2 separate regions of the Homo sapiens genome follow, and region 1 is linked to region 2. The links are contacts of gene promoters, found by promoter capture Hi-C in human tissues and cell types (Jung and others, 2019). All regions are on one chromosome and are shown on one strand. The core of a region is centred on a gene start or on the middle of the fragment in contact, and the rest is flanking DNA. Distances in the headings are between cores, read along the strand shown.

Region 1 (2,700 bases), core at 149-2,648, 140 kb after region 2:
CCTGAGGGAATCTCCTGGTCTGTGGGTTGTGAAGACTGTGGGAAAAGCATAGTATCTGGGTGGGAATGCACTGTCCCTCATGGCATGGTCCCTCAGGGCTTCCCTTGCCTAGGGGAGGGAGCTCCCCAACCCCTTACCCTTCCCAGGTGAGGCAATGCCCCACCCTGCTTTGGCTCACCCTCTGTGGGCTGCACTCACTGTCTAACAAGTCCCAGTGAGATGAGCCAGGTACCTCAGTTGGAAATGCAGAAATCATCCACCTTCTGTGCTGATCTCACTGGGAGCTGTAGACTGTAGCTGTTCCTATTCAGCCATCTTGCCAGCCACCTAATTAATATAATTTCAACATCACTTTCCATCCCTATGTCAGTGGGTATTAAGGACTTCTAACAATACTTCGGTGATTAGTAAGAGCTCACCAATAATCTGGTTGATGAAGAAATAATGATACCAAAAACAAAAATGTTACTGAGAGCAACAAATGATGCCCAGAGAAGTAAGAAGCAAGAAGAGTGGCATTTAACATACCAAAATGCTGGACATTTGGTTTTTGTGGTTCACTCCCACTACTTATCCTAATAGTGGCCCAACTTTATTTTGGTTTGTTTTGTCTCCAGTCTCATCTAATTGCTTCATCCTAAAGTTTCAGAGAGCAATAGGTGCCATGCACTAACTCAGGTGGTCAGGACATTGGAGTTTCTTTGCTAAAATATCAGGTTAAGGATGGGCATATGCTCCAATTCTGGACAATCAGGAGCAAAAAAATTCCATCTAATGATGCTTATTTTAACATCTGATGAAACAAATTCTCTCTTCCTCTTGACTAGATTTTATAAGCTGAAAGTATCGAGACTACTGTGTTTAGCCTAAAAATAGAACCAAGTCACAAGAAGCAGCTCTATGAGATGCATCCAGATAATAGTTTGAACTTTGAATCAAGCTGTACCTGAAACCATTATACCACCAGATTTCTTAGCTTATGTGGGACAATAGATTTATTGCTTGCTAGTGCCAGTTTGAATTGGATTATCTGTTATTTACAACCCAAAAATTCCTAAATAATAAGAACATATCTCATTTCAGAAAGGATTTGAGATGATTTAAAATAGGTACTATTAAGGCAAGAATAAACATATTACATAGATATGTTAACAAATTAGGGCAAAGGTAAAGTAATGATGTACTAATAAGGTGAATTTTGGAGGACTCATGACATAGAAATATATTCCATGAGGCCCAATTTATTTACTAAATTTTAGACCAAAAATTAAACAGCAAATTTCACACTAGCTAATTCAATAGACAATATAAATATGTAAAAGTCATGTTGTTCACAGGTATAAAACATGCGAGGAATGTGATTTCTAATAGGGAAGTGTTGGCCATATTAATGAAACCCTAAGTAGTTATTGGATATCTGAGTAGAACGGAAGAAGTACTATGAAATAATGTGGCTGTACCACACCTTAAATATCAGATTTATAGCCTAAGTGAAAAGCATAGGTTTATTTATCTTGCCTCAGCCCACCCAGATGTCTGGTTTATGTGAATCATTACTCTGGATGAAGATTGTCCAGACCTTCCCTAGTACAATTCCCACTCTCCAACCTCTTCAGGGCCTCAGGAGTTCGAGATGACAAAGGACAAGACATGAGGACTTACTGTGACTTATTTCCAAACATCCCAGCCCATTTACCCATATTTCCTCTCCCTTCCGTAAAACAGACACAAGAGTGTGGTTCTGCAGCCCTTGAACTGAATAACTTCAACTTCTGTTATTTTGCTCCAAAGAGCATTTCAAAATCACCTGACATTTCCATACCACCCACCTTATTTTTCTCTTCTCTTCTCAATAGTTCCTTCTTTTAAAATTATGCCTGGCATTCCTTCACATCTTTGTTTGTTCTTCTTTTTCGTGGTCTGAATTTCAGAGACCTATCTCACTTCCTTGCTCTACAGGCATCTCTCCAAGAAGAACTAAAAGGATGAAAGCCAAATATCCCTCTTTTGCTCAGTTTTTCTCCTTCCACATCCTCTATATTCGTCCTCCTGCACAGTCAGGATAAGTCTCAGCCTGAAATGGGAATAGTTGAAAAGGAGAGGAGAGGAGGAAATAAGTAATCCATTCTAAGTGTCAGATCTCTGAAGTTCAATTTTGTCTCTGGGCTGTGGACCAGATGGCTCATAGCCAGGCCCCCAGTGTGTTTTTAGGTTGAGGGCAGGTTGTGAAAAATAACAGAGAGAAATGCCTAATGCCAGCATACAAATGGATATTGGTATAAGTTCATTTTTCAAAATAGGAAGTAACTGACACATGATAATCGATTATAAAAATAATCAAAATCATTGTAGAAATGTATTTATTCATTTATTTGTTAGATACTTTTGCTATAAACAGAAGGTTAAACATTTTATTAAGTATGTATTTACTGAATAACTACTCTATGACTTAGACTATTCTGATAGTTCTGGGGTTGTAAAGATAAATGAGATACAGTTCTTGTCCTCATGGAGTTTTAATATATTTATGGAGTAAGAAACAATTAGAAAACAATAGTGTTTTGTATATTAAACTAACAATTTATATCCATAAACTAGAAATTGTCCATTATTCCTTTGCCTTTGTATTTTCAATTTAGCCTTTCAATCTGATTCTTTCCTAAATTTTAAGAAACTTTTATTATAGTGTAACATACACAA
Region 2 (2,700 bases), core at 128-2,627:
CACATTTGGCCAACTTTTTAATTTTTTTATCGAGATGAGGTCTAACTTTGTTGCCCAGGCTGGTCTCAAACTCCTGGGCTCAAGTGATCTTCCCACCTTGGTCTCCCAAAGTGCTGGGATTACAGGCATGAGTCATTGTGCCTAGCACAAATTCATGCCCAGATTTTAAGTGACTGCTCCAATGCATTCAGTGAATAATTAATATGATTTAAGAAACACTATAATAATAAATGTATTTCCTGGATCTCAAAAAAACTGTGTTCATGTATTTACACATATTAACCAGCCAGGGTCACTGATAAGTCACTGAATACTTCATATAAACTACTTAAATCAAACATTGACAAATGCTGCCCTTTTTATACAATGTGTTTTGGTCAGATCACAAAACAACTTAAATTTGGATTTTTGTGGTCTCCCCATGTATGAGTCCTCTTGAAAAGCTGCATGTTCTGACTATCACAATCGTATACCATTCCACACTGTACAGAATTTTCAGTATTTAGTTGAGATGCATGCTGTTCTTCCAGGACTTCAAATTATGAACTTCCCAGGGGGTTAGTCAGTCAAAATGCTGCTCTAGAGAATATAGTTCTAAGTAGATTTGTATCTGGGATTCTATACATTGAAATTAAAATCACAATGCATTTTAATTTTTTGTTTAAACATCTGCAGTTTAAAACTCTTTGATAGAAGAGATTACATTGTTAACCTCTGTGTGTTTATATGCCTAGTAAGACACTGGTATCAACCATGTACTATGTAATTTTTTAGTGAATGACTATACAGATTAAATGCAGTAGAAGGGCTTCTTTATATTTGTTATGGTCCTATGCATTCTGAATGGCTGCAATTTAATCTCTAAGGATAATGTAGAGTGGACTGTAGTTTATATAATTGTGCAGGGAAATCTTGGAAGATGTAAAAAGCAACGTCTCCAATTTATAAAAGAATCAGTGAGAATGAGGAAATAAGAAAGATGGGTGAAAAGAGGTGAAATTGGAAAGAGAAAACTTTGAGGACATTCAAAAGGGGGAAAGAAAGAATGGAGTGATGAGAAGAGGGGACACTATGGAGAGTGGAGGCAAAGTTAAGTGGAGAAACTGGAAGAACTGTGATCTATTAAAACAAGCAGGAACTGAAAAAATGACATGGTTTCTCCTTTTTATCTTACAAATGACATGCAAAATCCAGAGGGACAAAATGACCTTTCTTTCAATGCCATACACCACTTTGTCTAAGGCAGTTGAGGAAGGGAAGTAGATATAATGGAGCTTAGTGGCAGAGCAGCTGGAATCCTGAGAGAAGAGAATAACTTTAGTTCAGAGCAGGTGGGGAAATGAGAGATTGAGTAGGAGGACCAAGGTTGAGGGAAGCAGATCTTCTTAGTTGCTGTCAGCGGCTGATGGGGAAGATTGTTGGTAGAAGGAAGTCAGAATATAGGTACAGAGGGATAAGTTTGCTAAGAACAGAGATCAGCAAACAGCTTTTCTGAGAGAAAGAAACATCTGCAAATGACATGCTGTTTCTGCAGTTTCTGCTGCTAGCTCTTCTTCTCCCAGGTGGTGACAATGCAGACGGTAAGAACATCGCTGTCAGCTGCAAGGTTACATGTATCTGGGTAGAGTGTGCTGGGCTTTCCCGAGATGGATCAATAGAGATGCCAGAATGCTTGCCATCTGAGCATACCTGTCTCCAGGTCCAGTTTACTCTTTTGGAGGATGGTGGCAGAGCATGGGCTCTGTGTAAGGAAAATGTTATAGCTAAAGTAGTCATTAATGTTTCTCTGTGGTAACTGGTTCAATTTCCATTTCCTCTCCATTTTCCGTTAAAACAATCAGGGCCCAGGAAAATGATGTGGTTTCTCCTTTTTATGTTACAAATGACACGCAAGGTCCAGAGGGATGAAGCAACCTTTCAATGCCACGCACCACTTTGTCTAAGGCAGTTGAGGAAGGGAAGTAGATAAGATGGAGCTTAGTGGGAGAGCAGCTAAAATCCTAAGGGAAGAGAGTAACTTTAGTTCAGAGCAGATGGGGAAATGAGAGATTGAGTAGGAGGCCTAAGGTTAAGGGAAGCAGATTGTCTTAGTTGCTGTCAGTGGCTGATGGGGAAGATTGTCTGTTGGTAGAAGGAAGTCAGAATATAGATGTAGAGGGATAAGTTTGCTAAGAACAGAGATCAGCAAATGGCTTTTCTGAGAGAAGGAAACAACTGCAAATGACATGCTGTTTCTGTAGTTTCCGCTGCTAGTTCTTCTCCTCCCCGGTGGTGACAATGCAGATAGTATGAACATCTCTGTCAGCTGCAAGGTTACATGTATCTGGGTTGAGCATGATGGGCTTTCCCAAGATGGATCAATGAAGAAGCCAGAATGGTTGCCATTTGAGCATACCTCTCTCCAGGTCCAGTTTACTCTTTTAGAGGATGGTGGCAGAGCATGGGGCTCTGTGTAAGGAAAATGGTATAGCTAAAGTAGTCATTAATGTTTCTCTGTGGTAACTGGTTCACCTTCCATTTTCTCTCCATTTTCCTTGCCTCTCTTTTTTTTTTTTTCCTTACACTACTTGCCCTTCTTCCACCAAAAGCATCCCAGGAACACGTCTCCTTCCATGTCATCCAGATCTTCTCATTTGTCAACCAATCCTGGGCACGAGGTCAGGGCTCAGGATGGCTGGACGAGTTGCAGACTCATGGCTG

Evidence for each region. The method cuts DNA at HindIII sites, captures the fragments that hold promoters and counts their contacts. A contact is called where the count stands out against the background at its distance.
Region 1: a fragment that was not itself captured here is called in contact with the fragment with the promoter of CD1C in region 2 in 2 of the 25 tissues and cell types used here (spleen and thymus).

What each region holds. Positions count from the first base shown.
Region 1 is chr1:158,433,182-158,435,881 of GRCh38, forward strand. No RefSeq gene overlaps it. Among named protein-coding and RNA genes, the nearest start is that of OR10K2, 8.3 kb to the left of the region's middle. The HindIII fragment of the contact is 5,463 bases long and covers 1-2,700 here.
Region 2 is chr1:158,288,546-158,291,245 of GRCh38, forward strand. It overlaps CD1C (CD1c molecule), which reads left to right and starts at 1,378. Exons shown (of 6, transcript NM_001765.3): 1 at 1,378-1,580; 2 at 2,589-2,700. The coding sequence starts at 1,520. It also overlaps a transcript of CD1B not described here. The HindIII fragment of the contact is 10,692 bases long and covers 1-2,700 here.